Regions from separate parts of the Homo sapiens genome. Here region 1 is linked to region 2. Evidence: promoter capture Hi-C in human tissues and cell types (Jung and others, 2019). All regions are on one chromosome and are shown on one strand. Each heading gives the region's core, a stretch centred on a gene start or on the middle of the fragment in contact. The rest is flanking DNA. Distances are from core to core; before and after follow the strand shown. Region 1 overlaps LOC124903917 (a long non-coding RNA gene). Region 2 holds the start of NKAIN1 (sodium/potassium transporting ATPase interacting 1).

Region 1 (5,287 bases), core at 2,227-4,726, 320 kb after region 2:
TGACCTCATGATCCACCCGCCTCGGCCTCCCAAAGTGCTGGGATTACAGGCGTGAGCCACCGCGCCCGGCCGCTTGTGTGCTTTTCTTTGTTTTTATCCTACCTGGATTTACTAAGCTTCTTAAATTTAAGGGTTGATATATTTCAACAGTTTTGGGAAATTATCAGCCATATTACTTCAAATATTGCTTCTTCCTCAGTTTTTTCTTGCCTTCTGGAAGTACAGTTACACAAATGTTAGATCTACTAACTATGTCCCACAAATCTTACGCTCTGTTCCTTCTTCTATTTTTTTTTCTGTGTTTCTGGCTTGGATATTTTTTGTTGACCTGTCTTCGTTTGCTAACCCTGTCCTTTGTCCTTCTGCTAAACACATTCAATAAATTCTTAATTTCAGATGTTGTATTTTTCAGTCCTAGAACATTTTATTTTTGAAAGATATCCCACTTCCTCTGCTGACAATCTCTATTTTTATCTACTTTGCCAATCTTTTCATCTATTTTATTTAACATATTAATTGGTTATCTTACATTTTTTTGTCTGCTAACTCCAGTATGTGGGGCACTGTGGTTCCGATACTACTATCTATTTTTTCTCTTAACAGTCACATTTTTCTGTAGGTCTAGAAATTTCCAACACATGATATGGTTAAAACTGTAAATTATCCCAATATGGTGAGTGTGTAGTGATATCTTTTTGTGGTCTTAATTTGTACTCTGATTACTAGTGATGTTAAGCATCTTTTCATATGTTTATTCATAATTTGGTTTTCCTTTTTGTTAAATGCCTGTTCAAGTATTTTGTTCAACATTTGATTTGGTTATCTTTTTTCTCATTGATTTTCAGTTGTATATAAGTCGATATATCTTCCTGATGACTTGATCCATTTATTATTATTACTATTATTACAGTTTCTGGAAACAGGGTCTCACTCTGTTGTCCTGGCTGGAGTGTAGTAATGCGATCCATGGCTCACTGCAGCCTCCACTTCCTGGGCTCCAGTGATCCTCCTACTTCAGCCTCCCGAGTAGCTGGGGCTACAGGCATGCACCACCATGCCCAGTTAATTTTTGTATTTTTTGTAGAGATGCGATTTAGCCATGTTGCCCAGGCTGGTCTCGAACTCTTGGGCTCAAGGGATCTGCTCACCTTTGCCTCCCAAAGTGCTAGGATTCCAGGCATGAGCCACTGTGCTCAGCCCCATTTATTATTATACAGTGATCTTCTCTATTCCTAATAGTACTTCTCGCCTTAAAGTCCATTTTGTCTGATATTAATTTTTGTTGTTGTTGTTGTTGTTGTTTTTAGTAGATCTCACCCAAAAAAAAACTTCTGCTTTCTTCGACTAATTTGGAAATTACACTGTCTGTTTTACTCATTATCCAGTAACCTAGAAGTTATAATCTGAACATTTAACTTGTTCAAGTCTAGAGTTAATTGATACATTTACTCCAAGACAATGTAAAGAACTTACAACAGTTTAATTCCATTTTAACCACTATTATTAACGTTTTATACAATCGAGTTTCATTTAGATTTGCCATGTATTTGCCATTTGAATTCTCTTCATTCTTTCTAGCATTTTTGACCTTCAATTTGAGCTTTTTTTTCTTTCTACTCCAAGTCCATTGGTGACATACACTTACAGCTTTTGTTTGTCTGAAAATGTCTTTATTTCATATTCATTCTTAAAGGATGTTTTCACTGGGTATAGAATTCTTGGCCTGCAATTATTTTCTTTTTGCACATTGAAGATGATCTTTCTGCTATCCTCTGTCTTTTAATGTTGCTCTTGAGAAGTTAGCTCTCAGCTTACCTTGCTCTGTTGAAGATAATCTGACATTTTTTCCTGGCAGTTTTTAAGATATTCTCTTTGTCTTTGGTATTCTGCTATTTCACCACATATGTCTAGGTGCAAATTCTTTTTGAATTAATAGACTTCATTTTTTTTTAGAGCAGTTTTAGGTTCACAGCAAAATCAAGTAGAGAGTAGAGTTGGCCAGATGCAGTGGTCCATGCCTGTAATCCCAGCCAAGGCAGGAGGATCGCTTAATCCCAGAATTCGAGACCAGCCTAGGCAACATGGCAAACCCCATCTCTACAAAAAAATACAAAAATTAGTAGCCAGACCTGGTGGTGCACGTCTGTAGTCCCAGCTACTAGGAAGGCTATTAGAAGGATCATTTGAGCCTAGGAGGTCGAGGCTGCAGTGAGCTGTGATTGCACCATTGCACTCCATCCTGGGCGATGGAGTGAGACCCTGTCTCAAAATTAAAAAAAAGAAAAAAGAAAAAGAAAAAAAACCAAAGTACAGAGAGTTTCCACATGCCCCTCCCTCGTTTTCCACACACAGCCCCCCTTAACATCAACATCCTCCATGGGTGTTGTACATTTGTTACAATCAATAAACCAACATTATCGTTATCGACCAAAGTCCATAGTTTACATTAGGGTTCACTCTTTGTATTGTAAATTCTATGGGTTTTGACAAACTTATAATGAAATGTATATACTATTACAGCATCATACAAAATAGTTTCACTGTTCTAAAAATTTCCTGTTCTAATCTATTCATCCTCTCTCACCCCAAACCCCTGGCAGCCACTGATCTTTTTACTGTCTCCATGGCCTTGTCTTTTCCAGAATGTTACATAGTTGGAATCATACACTATGTAAGCTTTTCTAGGTGTAAATTAATTTTTTTTTTTTAGAGGAATCTCGCTCTGTCGCCAGGCTGGGGTGCAATGGTGCGATCTCAGCTCACTGCAACCTCCGCCTCCCGGGTTCAAGCGATTCTCCTGCCTCAGCCTCCCAAGTAGCTGGGTCTACAGGCATGCACCACCAAGCCTGGCTAATTTTTGTATTTTTACTAGAGACGGGTTTCACCATGTTGGCCAGGCTGGTTTTGATCTCCTGACCTCGTGATCTGCCCGCCTTGGCCTCCCAAAGTGCTGGGATTACAGGCGTGAGCCACCACACTCAGCAAATTAAAAAAAAATTTTATCTGGCCAGGCAAAGTGGCTCATGCCTGTAATCCCAGCACTTTGGAAGGCCAAGGCAGGTGGATAACCTGAGGTCAGGAGTTCAAGACCAGCCTGGCCAACATGGTGAAACCCCTTCTCTACAAAAATACAAAAATTAGCCGGGCATGATGGCGGATACCTGTAATCCCAGCTACTTGGGAGGCTGAGGCGGGAGAATCGCTTGAACCCAGGAGGTGGAGGTTGTAGTGAGTCGAGATCACGCCACTACACTCCAGCCTGGGCAACAGAGCGAGACTCCGTCTCAAAAAAAAATTTTTTTTTATCCCACTTGGGATTTGTTGGGCTTTTTGAATCTGTAGATTAATGGCTTTGATCAGTTCTGGGAGATTTTCAGCCACTGACGTTTCCAATATCACGTTTTCATTAGTCTCTCTCTTCTCTCCTGAAGTTCCAGTTACAAGAGTGTTAGATCCATTTCTCATTTATTCTTCGTGTCTTTTACTATTTCTTGCTATTATTTTTAATCTTTATGTCTCTCCATGCTCATTTTGGATTATTTCTTCTGACCTTTCTTCCAATTCACCAATTATCTTTTTTGCTATGTCCAAAATGCTTTAAATTTGCTATTGATTTTTAAATTTTAGTTAATTGTATTATTCATTTCTAGAAGTTCAGTTTGTCCCTTCAAACCTACTGTCACTTTTCATCCTGTTCCAGGCAAATATTTTCAAGCTACTCTATTGTTTATTTAAATATGGTTGTTCTATATTCTATGTAAAATAATTCCAGTGTTTAAATTCTTTATAGATATGTTTCTATTGTCTCTCATTTCTTCTGGTTCTTGCTGTGTGGTCTCATTTCCTTATGTGCCTGATTATCTTTTTTTTTTTTTTTTTTTTTTTGAGATGGAGTCTCACTCTGTCACCAAGCTGTAGTGCAGTGGCGCGATCTCAGCTCACTGCAACCTCCGCCTCCTGGGTTCAAGCAATTCTTCTGCCTCAGCCTCCTGAGTAGCTGGAACTACAGGTGCCCGCCACCATGCCCGCCTAATTTTTAGTAGAGACAGAGTTTCATCATATTGGCCAGGCTGGTCTCAAACTCCTGACCTCAGGTGATCCACCCACCTCGGCCTCCCAAAGTGCTGGGATTACAGGTGTGAGCCACCGCGCCCGGCCCTGATTATCTTTTACTGTGTGCTGGCCGTCGTACTTAAATATTTCTTTGTGTGACTCATTTGGAGCCTTGACTGAAGGACCTCCCTCCAGAGAAGGTTTTCATTTGCTTCTTCCAGAAACCTTTGGAAGAAACAAATAGTCTAGGGTCACCTCAATCTAAGTTCAAGGCTTGAGGTTACCGACCACCCAGGAGATACAAATTAGAGCTGCAAGTCTGTTACTGGAAAGGAGTCCCAATCCAGACCCCAAGAGAGGGTTTTTAGATCTTGTGCAAGAAAGAATTTGGGGCGAGTCCATAGAGTAAAGTGAAAGCAAGTTTATCAGGAAAGTAAAGGAATGAAAGAATGGCTACTCCACAGGTAGACCAGCAGCACCATGGGCCTCTGGTTGTCCATTTTTATGGTTATTTCTTGATTATACACTAAACAAGGGGTAGATTATTTATGAATTTCCAGGGAAAGGTGTGAGCAATCCCCGGAGCTGAGGGTTCCTCCCCTTTTCAGACCCTATAGGGTAACTTCCAGATGTTGCCATGGCATTTGTCAGCTGTCATGGTGCTGGTGGGAGTGTCTTCTAGCCTCCTCCTCACCTTACAGCCAGTAAGAAATAGAACCAGGCTAATGTATTATAATTATCATATAGTGAGCAGTGAGGATGACCAGAGGTCATTCTCATTGCCATGTTGGTTTTGGTGGGTTTTGGCCGGCTTTTTTACTGCAACCTGTTTTACCAGGAAGGGCTTTATGACCAGTGTGTTGTGCTGACCTCCTGTCTCATCCTGTGACCAAGAATGCCTAACCTCCTAGGAATGCAGCCCAGTAGGTCTCAGCCTTATCTTACCCAGCCCCTATTCAAGATGCAGCTGCTCTTCCTCTGATTCAAACGCCTCTGACAAGTCCATACTGGGGCTGGTTTACTTCTGAGAGTATGGCTCTTTGGGATCCCAACTAATTTGGGGGAAGGTCTTCTATTTGATCTTCCACCATGTGCTCTGGACTTTTATTTGTGTACATTGCCTAGAGGAGTTATCAAAACAACAGTTCAAACTAGCCCAAATCAGGAAGTGCCCTCAGAGTAAATGTGAGTTTCCCGTATGGTTTATCTGTCTACGTTTCTGTTTTCCCTTTAG
Region 2 (5,577 bases), core at 965-3,464:
TTCAGCAGTGATGGGGTTTCTTCATGTTGGCCAGGCTGGTCTCGAACCCCTGACCTCAGGTGATCTGCCCATCTCGCCCTCCCAAAGTGCTGGGGTTACAGGCATAAGCCACGATGCCTGGCCTAGAAAACTTACTTTTTATTTATCTGTCCTGTTTGATTATGTATGTATTTATTTTTTACAATATATGTATATTACTTTTCTAATTAAAAAAAACCCCTAGTTTAAAATTAAAAAATTAACAAACACAGAAGAATCCTCTGAAAGGTTTAAACATTTCTTGGCATTTCATGTTCCTCAAAGTAGATAAAGAAAAACAGACAATCTCTGCCCTTCTGGAGTTCCCATTCCACCTGATCTTAATTAATTCCCTCTGCAATCCTCAGGGATAATCATTTTACAGATAAGAAGACTGAGGCCGGCCAGTGGGGGGAAGTCACTTGTCCAGTCTCCCACAGCTGGGAGCAGGGCTACAATCTCCAGAGCTAGGGCTGTTTCCACCACTGCCCAGGCCAGGTCTGTGGATGGCATGTTTGAAGCTGGTGTCCCCAGGAGGAGAGAAGCAAGACGAATGAGGAGGTCTGCATGTCCAGGCTCAAAACTTCACTCTACATTATCATTGGCTCCTGTGGTGGGGAGGGCGTGATGGATGCAGGCAAGAGTGGAAACCCAGAACAAGGAGTCCAGCATGAGGGGGGCTCAGGCTCCTCGCTGCCCACTCTCAGACCTGGGTTCGGCGATGGAGGTCCCCATGCACCTCTGCCTAGAGGAGAAGCACAGCTTCAACCTCCCTAGTTGTTCAATCTCAGCTCTAGGGTAGGTAGGAGACCCCTGCCTCTCCTTAACCACCCTCCCAAATTCCCCTGCCAGGGCCTGATTTGAAGGGCAGTGCTGTTTCTTCTAGTCCACTACAGTCACTCCTCCCTGAGACAAGAACCTGAGTTCCCTATGCTGGGGCTAGGCACAGTGTCCTCAGATGCTCTGGTCCTCCCTAGGGCACCCAAGTGTCCCCATCCCCACTGTTGCTGGCCCCGGCAGAGGAGCTGCTCTGGTGGGTGGAACTGATGACTGATGGAACCCCCATGGCCACAGCGGCCAGACCAAAGCAGGAAGTGTGGTCCAGGCTGGGTCAGGCTGGCCCAGGATCTGGCAGCTCCTGGTGACCCTCTCCAGGGAGGTGGCTCTCCTTTCCCAGGACTGCCCGGTCAGGAAGGTGAAGGGAGGCAGAAACAACACAAAGGATTGGAGGGTTCTTGGAGTCTAAGATCCCAGAACACAGATGAACATGGGCCAGAAATGGTCAGCGATTTAGAGACACACCAAAGAGAAACCCTGAGAGACACACGCCGGAGCAGAGACTTTGTGAGAAACGCTCACACAGGGGTGGTGATCAGAGGCAGAGACCCAGAGGAAGGGAGAGACCCATGCAAACGAGGGATCTAGAGGGAAACACACAGCAGGACCTCAACGGATCCACAGATCAGCCTCAGACACACCCCCAGTCCCAGCAAGCCACCGTCCCACAGCGCATCCCCCAACAGGAGGCCACTTGTACAGTGCGGGCGGGCCGGGGACTCGCGCACAGGACGCACTTGGGGACCGGAGGAGCGCCGGGCACAGCAGCGAGAAGCGCACACAAAGAGACAGCCCGGCCAGCGGGAGCAGGCTCCGCCCGACCGCTCCGAGACTCCAGACCACCCCCCGCCCGGGCACACGCACCAGACACACACACAGAGACACACGCAACCCCACCCGCACGCCCTGGGACCGCGCCCCGCCGCGCCCCACCCTGCCCCGACTGCCTGGGCACGCGACGCTTACCAGCTGCAGGCAGCAGAAGGCGACCAGCGTGCAGCGCCCGCTGCACTTGCCCATGGCTCCGGGGGCTGCGCGGGCCGCACGCCGCGGCGCCCTTCTTGCTCCGCGGCCGCCGCCTGCTCGCGCCGCGCGGGCTCCACGTCCTCCCCGCTGGGCGCGCCGGGCGGCGGGGCCGGGCGCCTAGGGCCGGGCCCGGGAGTGTCCGGTCCCCAAGGCTGGGGCCGGCCGCCCGCGCTCCGAGTCCATGGTCCGTCCGTCCGCGCGCTGGCCCCGCCGAGCCGCGCCTCCTTTGTCTAGCGGGCCGTCCGTCAGGCGCGCCTCCTGCCCCGGGGCGGCTGGCGGGGAGCGCGGAGCAAGGAGAGCGAGCCCCGAGCGCGGCGCAGCGCAGAGCAGCACTGCCCAGCTGGGGCAGTCGCCCGGGCTCTCGTCGGCCGCGGCTTCCCGGCCCCACCACGTGGCTCCGCCGCCGCCACCGACAGGGAGGGAGTTGGGGGGAACGGCAGAGGGGTGGGGCGGGGGAGCCGCCGGAGGGGAGGGGAGAGGGATAGGGAGGTGGAGGGTTGGAGAGGCAGGGAGTGAAGTGGAAGAGTGCGTGCGGGCTTAGGGGACAACAGCCCTGAGTCAAATCCAGACTTTGCTGCTCACTCGCTGTGTGACCTTGGGCAAATCACGTCACCTCTCTGGACCTGTTTTCTCATGAACAAAGTAGGAATAATTATGCCTCTTTAGTGTAGATATGAAGATGAAATGCAGTCATGTGAATAAAGCGCTTAGCCCTGTGCCTGGCCTCCTGGCTTGGAACACTTTTTTGTCCACCCTGTCTCTAGGGCTCCAGGGTTCCAACTTGGACTTCTAGTTCTATTTACGTTCCCAGATCTGCTCCTCACCCCAGCCTCTCCCCTGAGTGTCTGGCCACATTTTTCGCCTTCCTTCTTTCCGTCTACTGGCATTTATTGAGCCCTGACTGCATACACACCCCTGGGGGCCCTGCGAGCCAGAGATGAGACCTGCAACACTGTTCCAAATCCCGTAGAGCTGCACCGCCCAGGGAACAGATAGGCTCCCAAGAGCACGCCAGTGAGATGGGTGATGGCAGAGATCTGCCCAGGTGGAGGTAGGGAGCCCCTACCCTGGGCTGCAGTAGGGACAGAGTCAGAAGTTTCCCAGCAGAAGATTGCCTTCTCCAAGCCACCCCCAAAAGCCCTCGAACTGGACACATCTCAAATCCACATAATCATTCCTGTCCCACTCCTAACTTCCTATATTCACCTTGGCAATTAGCATCACCCAAGTGGAATTTCCTAGGTCATCCTCCAGGCTTCCCTACAATTACATCTGATCTGTCACTACATTCTATAAACTGTACTTTCCAACTAACATTTATGAAATACCCACTATGTGCCAGGTTCTCTGCTGGGGATAAGGGAACAAAACCCGACAAAATCTCTGCCCTCATTGAGCACACAGTCTAGTGAGGGATTGTCATTAAAACAAGGAAATATACAAATAAATACGCAAAGTTCTGATGAATACTCTAAAGAATATTAAAGAAGAAACGTGGCACGGTGGCTCACACCTGTAATTTCAGCACTTTGGGAGGCTGAATCAGCTCACTGCAACCTCCACCTGAGTGGAGATCGGCCTCCCAAAAGTGAGTGGATCACCTGAGTTCAGGAGTTCGAGACCAGCCTGGCCAACGTGGTGAAACCCCATCTCTACTAAAAATACAAAAATTAGGCAGGGATGGTATCAGGCACCTGTAATCCCAGCTACTCAGGAGGTTGAGGCAGGAGAATCGCTTGAACCCGGGAGGTGGAGGTTGCAGTGAGCCAAGACCATGCTATTGCACTTTAGCCTAGGCGACAAAAGCGAAACTCTGTCAAAATAAATAAATAATAAATAAAATACTAAGGGAGAAAAGAGAGAATGAGAGGGGCATAATTTAGGTTTGGGGACCAGGAAACACCTCTTTGAGGAAACGAAACTGATACTGAGACGACAATAGGAAGGAAGGAGAGGCAGGGGAGTGAAGAGTGTTCTGGTGGAAGAAACAGAAGGTTCTTATTCTTTCCCTTCCTCTCCACTCTCACTAGCCCTCTTGATTCGAGAGACAGGAAGTATGGTAAGATGTAGGTTAGGACCCGTGGTTTTGGACCCAAACGGCCTGGGTCCCGGTTCCAGCACTGTCACTTGTTTGCTGCTCACATAGTAAGCATGCAAATAAATGTGTCACTGTTTTCTTCCAGGACTGGCTACATAGTTTGGGGGGCCCAGCACAAAATGAAGATGCAGCACTTCTTGTTAAAAAATTAAGAATTTCGGCCAGACGCAGTGGCTCATGCCTATAATCCCAGCACTTGGGAGGCCTGGCCAGATGACAAGGTCAGGCGTTCGAGACCAGCCTGACCAACATGGAAAAACCCTGTCTCTACTAAAAATACAAAAAATAATTAGATAGGTGTGGTGGCACATGCCTGTAATTCGCAGCTACTCAGGAGGCTGAAGTGGGAGAATTGCTTGAACCCAGGAGGCAGAGGTTGTGGTGAGCTGAGATCACCCCACTGCACTCCAGCCTGGGGCAACAAGAGCAAAACTCCATCTAAAAAAAAAAAAAAAATTAAGAATTTCAAGATGGCAACACAGCAGAGCGTGAAGTCAAGAACATGCAGGGGGCCGGGCGCTGTGGCTTACGCTATAATCCCAGGACTCTGGGAGGCCAAGGCAGGCGGATCACTTAAGGTCAGGAGTTCAAGATCAACCTAGCCAACATGGCAAAACCCCATCTCTACTAAAAATACAATAATTAGGCCAGGCGTGGTGGCTTATACCTGTAATCCCAGCACTTTGGGAGGCCAAGGCGGGCAGATAATCAGGAGATCGAGACCATCCTGTCCAACATGGTGAAACCCCATCTCTACTAAAATACAAAAAATTATCCAGGCGTGGTGGTGCATGCCTGTAATCCCAGCTACTAGGGAGGTTGGGGCAGGGGAATCGCTTGAACCCAGGAGACGGAGATTGCAGTGATCCAAGGTCACGCCACTGTACTCCAGCCTAGTGACAGAGTGAGACTCCATCTCAAAAAATAAAAATTAAAAAAATACAAAAATTAGCTGGGCGTGGTGGCATGTGCCTGCAATCCCAGCTACTTGGGAGGTTGAGGCATGAGAATTGCTTGAACCCAGGAGATGGAGGTTGCAGTGAGCTGAGATTGTGCCACTGCACTCCAGCCTGGGTGACAGAGTGAAACGGTGTCTCAAAAAAACAAAGAACAGAAAACAAAACATGCAGGGTCCTGTGTGACTGCAGAGGTCACATGCCCATGAAGCCAATTGTGTCTTCTCCCTGGACTTTAAGGTGGGTCTCTTTGGCCGGGCGTGGTGGCTCACACCTGTAATCCCTGCACTTTGGGAGGCTGAGTCGGGTGTATCACCTGAGATCGGAGTTTGAGACCAGGCTGGCCAACATGATGAAACCCTGTCTCTACTAAAAATACAAAAAATTAGCTTGATGTGGTGGCAGGCGCCTGTAGTCCCAGCTACTCAGGAGGCTGAGGCAGGAGAAATCACTTGAACACGGGAGGCGGAGGTTGCACTGAGCCAAGATCGTGCCACTGCATTCCAGCCTGGGTGACAAGAGCAAAACTCCGCCTCAAAAAAAAAAAAAAAAGATGGGTCTCTTCACAGGTCTCCCTCTTCCACCCATTCTGCAGGATACCACTTTGTATTTTAAAAGACACAGAATATCCCCACCGTTGAA

Evidence for each region. Contacts are between HindIII fragments. The study calls those that stand out against the background at their distance.
Region 1: a fragment that was not itself captured here is called in contact with the fragment with the promoter of NKAIN1 in region 2 in 2 of the 25 tissues and cell types used here (neural progenitor cells and spleen).

What each region holds. Positions count from the first base shown.
Region 1 is chr1:31,558,194-31,563,480 of GRCh38, forward strand. All of the region lies in intron 2 of LOC124903917 (a long non-coding RNA gene), which reads left to right. Among named protein-coding and RNA genes, the nearest start is that of TINAGL1, 16 kb to the right of the region's middle. RefSeq lists a silencer at 4,815-5,109. The HindIII fragment of the contact is 4,161 bases long and covers 1,397-5,287 here.
Region 2 is chr1:31,237,673-31,243,249 of GRCh38, forward strand. It overlaps NKAIN1 (sodium/potassium transporting ATPase interacting 1), which reads right to left and starts at 2,215. Exons shown (of 7, transcript NM_024522.3): 1 at 1,822-2,215. The coding sequence starts at 1,875. The HindIII fragment of the contact is 31,179 bases long and covers 1-5,577 here.